5 separate regions of the Homo sapiens genome follow, and regions 1, 2, 3 and 5 are each linked to region 4. Evidence: promoter capture Hi-C in human tissues and cell types (Jung and others, 2019). All regions are on one chromosome and are shown on one strand. The core of a region is centred on a gene start or on the middle of the fragment in contact, and the rest is flanking DNA. Distances in the headings are between cores, read along the strand shown. Region 1 holds the start of TCF3 (transcription factor 3). Region 2 holds the start of TLE6 (TLE family member 6, subcortical maternal complex member). Region 3 holds the start of PLK5 (polo like kinase 5 (inactive)). Region 4 holds the start of LINGO3 (leucine rich repeat and Ig domain containing 3). Region 5 has its middle 19 kb from the start of PLK5.

Region 1 (2,700 bases), core at 19-2,518, 660 kb before region 4:
CCCTCTTTGTCTGCCAACTGGAGGCCGGGTGTGAAGCGGGCGCCCCAGCGCAGCCCCTCCCCCGCTCAGTTTTTTTCTTTTTTGGAGGGCGTGTGAAACTGACTTTTTTTGAGGACTACGAAACCGCACTTTTTTGTGGGGTAGCTGAAACCGATTTTAAGACAGACTTAGTTGGGGGGGTGGCGAGCTAAAACGGGCATTCTACGGGAGCTGGAAGACTTCTGGGGCGTCCCAAGGACTTTGAGAGACTTGGAGAATGTTTGAAGCCACTTTGCACGGCGCCGAAGGCGGGGGGCGCGCTGGAACGCCTTTTTCCCGGGGGGAGGCGGCCCGGGAAGCCGGACCCCCCTCCCCCCGCAGCCGGTGCAGGCGGTGCGGCCCGGGAGCCTTTGAAGCTCGCAGCGCGGCCGCCGCCTCGCCCCGCATTAACGCGGAGCAGATGTTACCCGCGCGCCCCCCCCCGGCCCGCCCGGCCCCGACCAGCGCCTGCAGCGCGCGGCACCTTCCCCGCGCAGACAAAAGGACGTCCCTCCCGCGCGCTCCCCACCCCAAACTCCGGCGCCCGGGCCGGGCCCCCCTCTACCCGAGAAAGGGGGCGCCCCGGGGTCCCCGTGCGCCCGGGCTGGGGGGGACGGTCCTCGCGCCTAAGTTGCACAGCCCGTCCGGCGCCCCCCGCGCCCCCGCCCGGGGCTGCTTAAAGTTTCCCGAAGTGCCCGGCCCGACGGGGGCGACGCGGGCCTGGCGAGCTCCGGGCTCCTCCACGTCGCCGCCCCCCCGGCGCCGCGCGAAGTTGGAGAACAATGACTCCCGGGCCGCGGGGCGCCCCCCGACACCGCCCCCGCCCCAACTTCCTCCGCGCCCCCCCCCAACAAGCGCGCGCGGGGCGGGCCGGGGTTCCCTGGGCACAAAGCACGGGGGTACCGGGCGCGCCCCCCGCCCCCCGCCGGGCTCACCTGCTGGGCGCGGCCGGGCACGCGGCGCGTGGGGGGGGGCGGCGGCATGAAGCGGGGGGGCCCCCCCCCGGACAAAGGTGCGTCGCGGCCGGGCCCCCGAGGGTCGCGCGTGGGCGGCGGCGGCGGCGCGCGTGGCCCGGGCCCCTCCCACCCCCGCGTGGCCCGTCCCGCGGGGCCCGTGCGCGCGGCCGGCCGGGGCGCCCCTGGGGCAGCGGCGTGCGCGGTGCCCGCGGTGCCCGCCGCCGCGTCGGCTCCGGCCCGCTACGCCCGCAGCCGCCGCCGCTGCCTCATCTTCCTGCGGCGGGAGACATGTTCCGCCCCCCGCCCGCGCCGCCCCGCCCCGCCCCGTGCAGGCCCCGCCCCTGCCCCGCCCCCGAGTGCCCCGCCCGGCGGCCCACGCGGATCCCTCCGCCACCTCCGGGCGGCTCGGGCCCGAACGCCCTAGCTCGGCCTCTCGAGCACCCTCGTGAGGACCCCGAATCCCGTGAGGTCCAGAGCCTGGGAGCGGGGACGCGCAGAGGAGGCGGTCGGGCCACGGCGCGGGGAGAAATCACGGACTATCCCCGTCCGCGGAAGCACACACGAGCTGTGCGCTTAGTCCATGACGCAAGCGAGTAAGGCCCGTGAGATTGAAAGCTAAGGCAGAGCAGTCTGGTCAATCGGAAGCCGCGAAAGTCTGATGGGCGGGGATCCTAGCCATTCGTGGTGAGGCCCCGCCTCCTTTCTTCTCGGCCCCGCCCCTCAGCAGAGGCGGGACTCTGCGAGCGAGAGGCCGCGAGAGGCGGCCGGGGTGGGTCCTGGAGTTTTGTTCTCAGGTTGGCGTGGCCGCCCGCGCGGAGCCTTCTGCTTGGTTATATTTGCGTTCCTCGGGCCGGCCCCGCGTGCTGAGTGGTGCGAGCGGGTATCACGGCCCCGAGGGGGCTACGTCAGACCCATTTTCCCGGCGGGAAAACCGACTCTGGCTCCGGCTCTGGGTCAGAGAGCCCCGCGGGGAGTCTCAGCGGTGCCTTTGCCGACTTGAGTCTCCGTCTCGGCATCTGTGAATTTGGACCTGACTTTGGACAGAACTCAGGCCAGATCTGGCTTCCTGATTCTTAGTAGTCCGTGTCTACATTTTAGTAAAAAGTGACCCCGCCTAGGATCGGGCGCCGTGGCTCCTGCCTGTGATCCCAGCGCTTTGAAGGAGGCCGAGGCGGGAAGATCGCTTGAGGCCAGGAGTTCGAGAACAGCCTGAACAACATAGTGAAACCCCCCCCACCCACACCCGTCTCTAAAAATATTTAAAATAATTTAAAATAATAATTTAAAAAGTTGACCGGACGCGGTGGCCCACGCTTGTATTCCCAGCACTTTGGGAGGCCAAGGCGGGCAGATCACCTGAAGTCAGGAGTTCGAGACCTCTCTGGCCAACACGGTGAAACCCCATCTCTACTAAAAATACAAAAATTAGCCGGGCATGGTGGCGGGCACCTGTAGTCCTAGCTACTCGGGAGGCTGAGGCAGCAGAATCGCTTTCACCCGAAAGGCGGAGGTTGCAATGAGCCGAGAGCACGCCATTGTACTCCAGCCTGGGCAACAAGGACGAAACTCCGTCTCAAAATAAATAAATAAATAAGTAAAATAAAATAAAAATACAAAAATTAGCTGGGCGTGGTGGCATACACCTATAATCTCAGCTACTCGGGAAGCTGAGGCAGGAGAATCGCTTAAACCCAGGAGGCAGAGGTTGCAGTGAGCAGAGATCGCA
Region 2 (2,700 bases), core at 60-2,559, 670 kb after region 4:
ATATTTTTTTGAGATGGAGTCTTGCTCTGTTGCTCAGACTGGAGTGCAGTGGCACGATCATAGCTCACTCCAGACTCAACCTCCTGGGCTTACGCCATCCTCCTGCCTCAGCCTCCCCAGTAGCTGAGACTACAGGTGCATGACCACCACACTTGGCTAATTTTTAAATTTTTTGTAGAGACGCGGTGTCACTGTGTTGCCCAGGCTGGTCTCCAACTCCTGGCCTCAAGCAATCCTCCCACCTCAGCCTTCCAAAATGCTGGGATCACAGGTGTGAGCCATGGTGACTTGGCTTCATATTTTGAATAGGCCAAAACAAAACTCCGAAATCCCCTTACTCCTATCCCCACGACCCCACACAGCAGGTTTCTCTCGCTCTGCAGCAACCCACTTACCTCTCGGAAATCATCCCAGGCCTGTTCGGAGTGCACGCAGCCCCGTTAGCCTCCCTGGCTGCTCCTGTAACCAGCCCAGCTCTGCCTGAGAGGTTCCGCTATTCCCTCCGTCTGGAATACCCACCACTCTCTCCCACCCCGCGCTTGCATCCGGCAATACTGTATCAGCCTCAGGGCCTCTGCTGTCCCGCTTTCTGCTCTCAGAGCCTTTGTCACTGGGCTGGAAGAGCAGTTGGGAAAATTCGGTGATAAATGCATAGCCCGGGGCTGGGACCATCAAGGGGACCCAGTAAGTTGGCTCCAGAAAGAGGACTTGAAGCTTCGTTTGCATTGCACGTTATTTAATATTGAGGAAAATGTAATTAGCCCGTATCTAAGAATTGGGGTGACAGCGCTAAAGATTGAACCCACCCACCTCCCACTCCTCACCTCCAGCCATAAGCCACTTCCGGACAAGGCTAAAAATGCGTAAAACAATGCAACTACTCGCCACCTATCCCTGCCCAAGTTCCAGCCTCTGAGCCTCAAGCCCCACGCCCTCCTAAATATCCCCGCCCCCGCTGGGACCCCAAATTGCCTATAGCTCTGCAAGTCCGCCCTTCCCGGCAGCGGGACCGAAAGGGTAAAGCAGAGGCTCCCGGCTCGCTGAGTGACAGCATGGCCGGCGGCCGGGGAGAGCCGACCAATCAGGGAGGGCGTACGCGACCCACGTGCGTAAACGGCCTCGCTATTGGCCGGCGCCGCCAGAGGCCTGCCCCCCCCGGAGCCCGAACCCACGTGCAGCTACTGCGCCTTCATTGATCTGCTTCGCGGTCCAGGTGGCGGCTGGGTGGGGCCTGGGCGGGACGGGGCGGGGACAAGGCGGGACGAGGCGGGGCCCGATGGGTCAAATGGCCCCCGGTGGGGGAAGGAGGAGTTTCCTCTTGGCCTGAACTTGGCTGACCTCCGCAGCTTCCGCCCGGTGAGGGACGTGAGTTGCCAGGCGTGTTCTAGGGGGCTGGGGGGACTCCAGGATTCCCGGCCGGGGAAGGGGCTGCAGGGGCGTGGAGGGGCAGGACTGAGGCAAGGAAGAAGCTGGGTGCTGCAGCAGGGATGGAGGTGGAGAGAGGTCGTTTCTTCTGTCTGATGAATTCCGCCTAATGCACCTGGCTAACTCCTAGTCATCCTTCAAAACCCCTTTCTAGTGATCTCCCTGCGCTTTAGGAAATTGTCTCAAAACTAAGGTTGAGCTTTGGCGACCTTCCCTGGGCTCCCCCGTCCCTGACTGCCCCCAGCAGGGAGTGTATGTGCACTATCCACCCCAGCCTCCTAGGGTGAGGCCTGGGAGGCAAGGCTCAGTTCTTTCTGGGTCCCCGCCCCCATGAATCTGGGCAGCTGGAGGCATTGATAAGTGAGGACAGGACCTAGGGAACGCATGGGAGAACCGCAGGATTGGGTCCCTGGAGACTTACCAAACTGGGAGGTGCGGGTGGGGTAACGGGTGCCTTGCTTCCCTGGCACTGCCTTATTTTCTGTCCCTCAAGACCTGCCGTCTCCTTGTTGTTTTAGACTCTGGCTAAAGTCTTGGAGGCTACTGCCTTGAAGATGACCTCTAGGGACCAGCCCAGACCCAAGGGCCCCCCGAAAAGCACTTCGGTGAGGAGGGCATGTGGTGGGATCAGCCCTCAAGGGAAACCCGGGCCCAATGTGGTTCTGCCCCTTTTCCACCTGTGACCTGGGCTGGCCCCGCCCAGGCCTCGCAGCTGAAGACAATACTGGTCGCTGCTACACTCAAGACAGGTGCCAAGGAGCCGTGTTTTTTAAAAAAAATTAAGTGTAGGCTGGACACTGTGGCTCACAACTGTAATCTCAACATTTTTGGAGGCCGAGGCAGGAGGACCACTTGAGCCCAGGAGTTTGAAACCAGCCTGGACAACGTAGTGAGACCCTGTCTCTGTAAAAAATAAAACTAGAAGAATCAGCTGGGCCTAGTGACGTGGGCCTGTAGTTGCAGCTACTTGGGAGGCTGAGGCAGAGGGTTGGCTTGAGCCCAAGGAGTTTGAGGCTGCAGTGAACTATGATGGTGCCACTGCACTCCATCCTTGGTGACAGTGAGATCCCATCTAAAAAAAAATGTAGCATCTAATCACATATGTGATAAAAACACAGGAACACATCATGTATTTGGTTGATGTTTTACAAGCAATCCCCGCTCCCTGCACTTTGCGTCCCAGAGATGACCATTTGTAAATTTAGGCTCTCAGGGCTGAGCAGACGTTTTTTTTTGTAAAGGAGTCAGATGAGGGATATTTTGTTTTGAGACTTT
Region 3 (2,700 bases), core at 201-2,700, 780 kb before region 4:
AACAAACAAACAAAAAAAAAAGCAAGGAACTGGCTTTCTGCCCCTGGAGGATTCCAGGGTGACAGTCGTGTGACAGCTCAGACACTCGGGCCCCGAGCAGCCCACCTTGCAGCCACCTCACCTGATTCTCATCAGCAGGGGACTTGGGCTCCCCAGCTGCAACCCGGTGGCCCCAGGCTGGCCAGGAATCTTCCGCCCTGGCCCTGGGACCAGAAACCCCGCAAAGGTGCCCGAGCTCAGCCCCGTCCAATGCACGGGGGCCCCATTCGTGACACCAGGTGGACACGTGACGGCTCAGAAGGTGTTTCCTGTCCCTAGTGGTGTGGCCGGGCCAGATTCCGAAATCTGGTCCCTGGAAAATTCCAGCCCCACGGAGCCTGGTAACCCCTCCCCATTCCTGGTGTTATGTAACATTTGGGGATTAATACCGCAGGCGTCCAGGGGCGGCTGCCGGGATTCAAACCCAGCGCTGCCCTTTCCTGGGCTGACTGAGCGACTTTGCGTCCCTGGGTCTCAATGTCTTGCCTGTACAATGGGGACAAGGCCCGTTTTTGTGTCCCAGGCTGGGTGGAAGGGTGAGGGAAGACCTCACCAGGAAAGGGGTGCACCTGAGTCTGGGGCAGGGCTTGGAGCAACCACCCCCACGATTCCGGGGGAGTCTCAAGCCCCCCACTGTCTTCCCACCCAGCTGTTCTCTGAGTTCTCTGAGGTTTCTGATGCTCTCTGAGGTCGCCATTTCAAGGACGTCCCCACCTGGCTGTCCGTGCAAACCCCAGCCAGGGTCCACCTGCTGCTCCACACAGCCCATCCCTTCTCCGGGCTGAAGCTCCCTCATATGGGACATCCACTACACTGTAGGACCCCAGCCCATGCGTCCCCAAGCCCCGGTCCTGCCTCCTGGGTCCCTGTCCCAGGCCTCACCGCCCTCCCCACCAGCCCCAGCATCACAAACGCTGGGCTTCTCTGCCGCTCCGAATTCTGCTGTGGCTCCCCAGTGCCCAGGGCCATCAAGCCCCAGGTTTTCATGTGGGCCCCAGGGACCCGCCAGCAGGGAGGACCCGAAATGGCACACATTCAGAACGTCGAGGCTCATACCTCAAGCGCACTGTGGGGGAGAAGCCCCCGGAAGCCCCCAACCCCCCACGCGCGAGAGAGCCTCAGTTTCCCGCTCGGTAAAGCGGGCGTATCAGCGGTTCCCAGCCAGCCCGGGTGTGCAGGGTCGGAGGAGCTCGCGGGCTGAGCGCGGCCCCTGGCGCCCGGTTGGCGTGCGGGACTCGGGCGCGCTCTGGTCCGTGGAACTTCCCCAGCCGCGGCGTCCCCGCCGCTCACGCGCCCCCCACTCCACGGCCGGGCACCTCCCGCCCCTCCCCGGGCTGGACCTGCGCCCGGGCTCCGCCCCCTCCCCGCCCCCGCGGCCAATAAAACGCTCCCCGGCGGCTCCTGCGCCCTCAGAGCGGCCCCGGAGCGGCCGCAGCGCGGTGGTCTCGGCCCGGCTGCGCCAGAGTCCGCGCGATGGAGCCCCGGCCGCGGCGGCGGCGCAGGAGTCGCCCCCTGGTCGCCGCCTTCCTGCGAGACCCGGGCTCGGGCCGCGTGTACAGGCGCGGGAAGCTGATCGGCAAGGTGGGAGGCCCGCGCCCCGAGTCCGCGACGGGGCCGGACCGGGCTGGGCTGGGGTCCCGGGGCGCGCGGGCGATCCTGCGCGGTCTACGCGGCGCGTCCCTGCGAGCGCGGGGTCTGGAGCGGGCGCGCGTCCGGAGCCGCGGGGCCTCCCGTGCGGGGTTTCGCATGGCGGGAACCGTGTTGAGCGCGCTGTGCGTCGTGTCCGTGGGTTGCGTGTCCGGGGTGTGGGCGTGCGGCTCGGCCTCGGGATGCGACGCTGTGTTGCCCCTGGGTGTGTGTGCGAGCCTGGCGAGGGTCTGAGTGTGCCGCGTCTGTGCCCGCTGCTTCCAAGTGTCTGGGTGCTGTGCGGTGTTCGTGTGTGTGTGTGTGTGTGTGTGTGTGTGTGTCTGGGTGTTGTGTTGCTTGTTCACCTGTTGTTTGTGCGTCATGCCTTTGTGTGTCCAGTCATTGTGTTGTGTGTCTGGGTGTTGTGTGTTCATGTGGTGTGCTTGTGTGTTTGTGTGTTCATATGTGGTGTGTCTAGGAGTTGTGTGTTCATGTGTTTGTATCTGTGTCTTTGTCCATGTGTTGTACTGTGTGTCCAGGTGTTGTGTGTTCATGTGTTTGTGTGTTCCTGTGCTGTGTCTGGGTATTGTGTTGTGTGTCCACACGTGGTGACTGTGTGTCCAGACATTGTATATTCATGTGTTTGTGTGTTGCTGCGTTGTGTATCTGGGTGTTGTGTTGTGTGTCCATGCATGGTGACTCTGTGTCTGGGCGTTGCGTGTTTGTGTGTCGTATTCAGGCGTGGTGTTGTGCATCCGGTGCTGTCTTCTGGTCCGTGGCCTCTATGCACCAGGCGTGGATGTGTCTGTGTCTGTGTCTCTGTGCCTTCTTGTGTGCATCATGTCTTGTGTGTCCAGGCGGGAGGGTGGGAGCTGTGTGTTGTTTTTTCCCCGGTGTGTGTGTGGAGAGACCTGGACGCGCCTGCGTCCCTGGCTGCCCTGTGCCTCTGTACGCGCTGCCAGCTTGCACACCCGTGCACACCTGCCCACTGATCTGCTGACCCCTCCCCACAGGGCGCCTTCAGCCGCTGCTACA
Region 4 (2,700 bases), core at 142-2,641:
CCGCCCGGCTGCCCCCTTCCTGCCACCCCACATCATCGAGATGGGGACAGGAGCTGGGTCTACAGGGGAAGCCCGTGGGTTCTTCCCACTCAGATCCTGTCTCCGACGATGGCTGCTGCTTCGGCTCAGAGAACAGCCAGGGTAAGGCCATGCCGCGGCAGCCCACCCCACACCAGCCTCCTGATAAAGCCAGCACCACCCTCCCTGAACCTGTTTCCAGCCTGCGTCCTCCACCTGACCACTCACACCTCACACCTTCTGCATCCTCTCCAGGCCACTTCCAGGGAGCCCTCCTGGGTTGCTCTGGTTCTCACAGCTCTGTTGTCCCTGAAGGCTCCCCCCAGCCAAGCCCCAGATCGTCCCTCTGCAAATACCACTGCACAGCAGACGCCCGCTCCCCACCCCCGCCGGAGCAAGGGTGTCTGCAGCCTCGCTGCGTCCATGGTTTAGCCAGGGACCGCTTGCTAAAATGCAGCTTCTGGGGCACATCGCCTCAGAAGTTCTGACTCCTCAGAACTGGGGGGGCCGGGACACCGGCACCGTTAGCGCCCCAAGCACACGTTGAGAAACCCAGTTACATGGTGGTCTCCAGCGTAAGGACCCGGGGCTTTTCTTGTGCCCGGACCAAGGCACGAGGTGCTGCTCCCCTAAACTTGTTGAATGGGACTCAGGGCCTCCCCTGGCCAGGCCCCAGAGGCCCGGGAGGTGGCGGCACCCACTCAGGGTGCCCAGGCCCACCATTTCTGGTGCTATTCAGACGCCCCCAGAGCAGGGGGACTCAGCCCTATGCCCCCAGGTCCCTCCCCGCCAGGCCGGGCCGTCAGCTCCAGCGATGGAGCAGGCTCCGGTGTGGACCCCAGATACCCTTTGCGTCTTCCAGCTCCGCACCCCCAGGCTGGACCAGACCCGGCTCGGGGGAGACAGGGCAGGAAGGCGCGGGCTGCAGGCTCTATTCGGACGTTCCCCACACCCCAGACCCAACCAGTGCCCCCTTCATCTCCTCCTGGAGAGGAGCGCATCCTCCCAGCGTCCCCAGTGCCCCGGGGAGATGCCCACCCGATTCCCCGCTCCTTGGCGCCCCAGAGGAGGGGCGGGGGGCCCCAGGGTGGGGAGTTCGCCCCCAAAGTTTCCAGGGGGAGCGTCGGGGGCCTGGCAAGGAGCGATGAGCCCGGGAGGGGTGCGCGGGGCAATTTCCCCCGGCTGAGGATGGGGTCGCGGGTTGGGGGCTTTGGGCGGCAGGGTCGCAGGGTGCAGGTGAGGGGTCCCCAGGTCTGCGGGCGCGCCCCACGCCGGGCCCCGGCACGGCCACTCACCTGGGCGGCTCCGCCGCGGACACGGCGCGGGCTGCGGCGCGGGGGCCGCCCGGAGCCGACACGAGCAGCCGCCGCCGCCGCCGCCGCCGCCGCCGCCGCCTCCCGGGCTCCGCCGTGCGCGCCGCCGCCGCGCGCAACCGCCCGCCGGTCTCCTCGGCGCGCCTGGCGGGGGCGCGCGGGGGCTGCGCTGGGCCGCGTGCGCGGCGGCTGGGGCCGCAGGTGTGAGAGGCCACGTGGGCGCAGGTGCGGGGACACTGGGAGCGCGGGTGCAGAACCCCTCCGTGCGCATCCCGGGCGCTTCGTGTCCGAGGACCTCCTGTCCCCACGGCCTGGGTGAGCCTGCGGAGACGGCCGTGCCGTGCAATAAACGCAGGGGCACCCCAAGTGCAGCAGGTTGTTCCGTGTGGAACCTTCTGGAAGCTACCATCGCCTCCTCTGCCCCCCGTCCCCCACCCCTAGTCCAGGCCGCCACCATCTGCACCTGGACATCTGCCACAGCCCAGCCCAGGCCCATTCCTTATGTGGCCCTCAGAGGAAGCCCCTCAGAGGAAGCTTAGCCACTGGGCTCCAGAACCTGCCGTGATTCCCTATTGCCGTGAGGGTCCCGTCTGCACCCCACCTACCCTGGAATTTCTCTTTCTTTCGTTCTTTCTTTCTTTCTTTCTTTCTTTTTTTTTTTGAGATGGAGTCTTGCTCTGTTGCCCAGGCTGGAGTACAGCGGTGCCATCTTGGCTCACTGCAACCTCCGCCTCCTGGGTTCAAGCGATTCTCCTGCCTCAGCCTCCCAAGTAGCTGGGATTACAGGCACCCGCCACCACGCCCGGCTAATTTTTGTATTTTTATTAGAGACGGATTTTCAGCATGTTGGCCAGGCTGGTCTCAAACCCCTGACCTCGGGTGATCCACCCACCTCGGCCTCCCAAAGTGCTGGGATGACAGGTGTGAGCCACCGCCCGGCTGCCTGCACTGTTTGGTCTGCCGCACCACCTCCTTCCCCCTGGCCTGTCCTCACTCACTCTTTCCCGGGCTCCACCCCCTCAGCCTTCCTCAAACAGGCCAAGTCCCTCCAGTCCCAGGCCTTTGATCTTCGCTGTGCCCAGCTTGGACAGCCTTTCTCTCTGTCCCTCCATCGAGCAGCTTGGAGCCTCTCAGTTTGTCTAATGGGCTTGTTCCCCAATGTGCCTTCCGCCTAGCACACAGCAGCGCACACACCAAGTGCACTGCGAGTGCTCATGGAAAGTTTTTTACCTTTTTTTTTGTCTTTTTTTTTTTTTTTTTTTTTTGAAATGGAGTTTTGCTCTCGTCACCCATTCTGGAGTGCAGTGGTGCAATCTTGGCTCACTGCAACTTCCACCTCCCGGGTTCAGGCGATTCTCCTGTCTCAGTC
Region 5 (2,700 bases), core at 198-2,697, 760 kb before region 4:
CGGGCCAATTCTTATTTCTAGGTATAAGAACTTCCAGAGATGGCAAAGCACCCACACCGCCCTCGTGCTAAAGTTTCTGGAATCTTCCTTAGACGGGTGAACTGTGTGCTGCCAGAAATAAAATTAATAGCCTCACTTTTTTGGGTGCTTACAAGGGTTGGAACTTCAAGAAATGGTCATGAATTCACTCCAGCCCTGGCTCAAAGATTTTTTTTTCTTTCTTCCCTTCTTCTTCCTTCTTCTCCCTACTCCCTTCTCTTCCTCTTTCTCCTCCTCCTTCCTTCTCCTTCTTTTTCTTTTTGGAAACCACTGATTTAACCCTGAGAGAGGGAAAACTTGTCCTGGCAAGAATTTCCAAAGCTCAGTTTTATTTTTTAAGACAAAGTCTCGCTCTTGTCACTCAGGCTGGAGTGCAGTGGCGTGCTCTCGGCTCACTGCAGCTTCCGACTCCCTGGTTCAGGAGATTTTTCTCGTGCCTCAGGATCCCAAGTAGCTGGTACTACAGGCGTCATCATGCCCGGATAAATTTTCTACTTTTAGTAGAGACGGGGTTTCACCATGTTGGCCAGGCTGGTCTCGAACTCCCGACCTCAGGGGATCCACCCGCCTCGGCCTCCCAAAGTGCTGGTATTACAGGCGTGAGCCCCAGCGCCCGGCCCCAAAGTTCCGTTTTACCCTTTTTCCCACGCTGAGGCTACAGCTGAACCCAGCCTCCAGACCACCTCCTCATTGGTCTATGGGAGCACGTGACATCATGCGTCCTCCAATCACCAGCAAGCAAGCAAGGCGTGGGCGGGACCAAGGGCGGCTACCTCTGGGGCCAGCAGGATTGGCTGTTGCCCGTGGTAACTGTGTGTGACGTCATAAAGCTTCCTTGCACCTTGGCAAGGCCCCGGGAGCAGGGACCTTTTCTCTCCCACTATACAGATGGGGACACTGAGGCGCTGGTTCTCAATCTATGAAAAAATGGGGTGCTGGTAGGTAGGTCAACCTGGGTCCCACGGGGAGTTTTCAAACTCCTGATGACTCCAGAGAATTACGCTGAGTGAAAAAAGCCTGTCCCGGCCGGGCGCGGTGGCCCACGCCTGTAATCCCCGCACTTAAGGAGGTCGAGGCAGCCGGGTCACAAGGTCAAGAGATCGAGACCAGCCTGGCCAACATGGTGAAACCCCATCTCTACTAAAAATACAAAAATTAGCCGGGCGTGGTGGCGGGCGCCTGTAGTCCCAGCTACTCGGGGAGCTGAGGGAGGAGAATCACTTTCACCACGGAGGCGGAGGTTGCAGTGAGCCTAGATCACGCCACTGCACTCCAGCCTGGGTGACAGAGTGAGACTCCGTCTCGGGAAAAAAAAAAAAAAAAAAAAATTAGCCGGGCATAGTGGGGTGTGCCTGTGGTCCCAGCTACTCAGTTGGCTGAGGTGGGAGGATCACCTGAGCCCAGGAGTTCCAGACCACCCTGGGGAACATAGTGAGACCCCATCTCTATAAAAAATTAGAAAATTAAGGCCAGGCGCGGTGGCTCACGCCTATAATCCCAGCACTTTGGGAGGCCGAGGCGGGCGGATCAGGAGGTCAGGAGATCGAGACCATCCTGGCTAACACGGTGAAACCCTGTCTCTACTAAAAATACAAAAAATTAGCCGGGCGTGGTGGCGGGTGCCTGTCGTCCCAGCTACTCGGGAGGCTGAGGCAGGAGAATGGCGTGAACCCGGGGAGACGGAGCTTGCAGTGAGCCGAGATGGCGCCACCGCACCCCAGCCTGGGCGACAGAGCAAGACTACGTCTCAAAATAAATAAATAAATAAATAAATAAATAAGCCAAGGATGATGATGCACACCTGTAGTCCTAGCTGCTTGGGCGACTGAGGCAGGAGGATGCCTTGAACCCAGGAGTTCATGTAGGTTGCAGTGAGCTGTAGTTGCACCACTGGAGTCCAGCCTGGGCAACAGAGCAAGACCCTGTGTAAAGAACAAAAAAAGTTTATGTAACATTTTAGAAATGGAATTAGGGTTAGGGATGAGGGTGCGGGGAGGGTGCACAAACAGCAAGAGATCCTGATGGTGATGGAAATGCTCCATGTCATGATGGTGGATACACGAATCTACCCAGGCCAGCAAATTATAGGAGACTAAAGACATCTCACACACTCACACACACGATCACAAGTTAAACTGAGGAATCCTGAGTAAGATTGATGGATTGTATCCATGTGAAATCTTACTTATATGTTTTTTAGAGATGGAGTGTCCTTAATGCACCCCAGGCTGGAGTGCAATTTTGTGATCTCAGCTCACTGCAGCCTCTGGGGTTCAAGCGATTCTCCTGCCTCAGCCTCCGGAGTAGCTGGGATTACAGGCGCCCACCACCACGCCCGACTAATTTTTGTATTTTTAGTAGAGATGGGGTTCCACTATGTTGGCCAGGCTGCTGTCGAACTCCTGACCTCGTGATTCACCTGCCTTGGACTCTCAAAGTGCTGTGATTACAGGCGTGAGCCACCACACCCGTTTTTGTTTTGTTTTGTTTTGTTTTGTTTTTGTTTTGAGATGGAGTCTCACTCTGTTGCCCAGGCGAGAGTGCAGTGGTGTGTTCTAGGCTCAGTGCAACCACCGCCTCCCAGGTTCAAACGAGTCTCCTGCCTCAGCCTCCCGAGTAGCTGGGACTACAGGTGCCCGCCACCACGCCCGGCTAATTTTT

What was found. Contacts are between HindIII fragments. The study calls those that stand out against the background at their distance.
Region 1: the fragment with the promoter of TCF3 here is called in contact with the fragment with the promoter of LINGO3 in region 4 in 2 of the 25 tissues and cell types used here (adrenal gland and spleen).
Region 2: a contact is called between the fragment with the promoter of TLE6 here and the fragment with the promoter of LINGO3 in region 4, in 2 of the 25 tissues and cell types used here (dorsolateral prefrontal cortex and psoas muscle).
Region 3: the fragment with the promoter of PLK5 here is called in contact with the fragment with the promoter of LINGO3 in region 4 in 2 of the 25 tissues and cell types used here (lymphoblastoid cells and spleen).
Region 5: a contact is called between a fragment that was not itself captured here and the fragment with the promoter of LINGO3 in region 4, in 1 of the 25 tissues and cell types used here (pancreas).

Annotation. Positions count from the first base shown.
Region 1 is chr19:1,651,347-1,654,046 of GRCh38, forward strand. TCF3 (transcription factor 3) reads right to left here and starts at 1,269. Exons shown (of 19, transcript NM_003200.5): 1 at 954-1,269. RefSeq lists silencers at 188-307, 288-510, 318-547, 638-717, 1,248-1,377 and 1 more and enhancers at 1,728-1,777, 1,898-2,007. The HindIII fragment of the contact is 17,847 bases long and covers 1-2,700 here.
Region 2 is chr19:2,976,255-2,978,954 of GRCh38, forward strand. TLE6 (TLE family member 6, subcortical maternal complex member) reads left to right here and starts at 1,310. Exons shown (of 17, transcript NM_001143986.2): 1 at 1,310-1,356; 2 at 1,944-2,030. The coding sequence starts at 1,980. RefSeq lists a silencer at 1,032-1,341. The HindIII fragment of the contact is 31,192 bases long and covers 1-2,700 here.
Region 3 is chr19:1,522,627-1,525,326 of GRCh38, forward strand. PLK5 (polo like kinase 5 (inactive)) reads left to right here and starts at 1,451. Exons shown (of 14, transcript NM_001243079.2): 1 at 1,451-1,620; 2 at 2,679-2,700. The HindIII fragment of the contact is 15,366 bases long and covers 1-2,700 here.
Region 4 is chr19:2,306,763-2,309,462 of GRCh38, forward strand. LINGO3 (leucine rich repeat and Ig domain containing 3) reads right to left here and starts at 1,392. Exons shown (of 2, transcript NM_001101391.3): 1 at 1,314-1,392. The HindIII fragment of the contact is 18,961 bases long and covers 1-2,700 here.
Region 5 is chr19:1,542,005-1,544,704 of GRCh38, forward strand. No RefSeq gene overlaps it. Among named protein-coding and RNA genes, the nearest start is that of PLK5, 19 kb to the left of the region's middle. The HindIII fragment of the contact is 4,742 bases long and covers 1-2,700 here.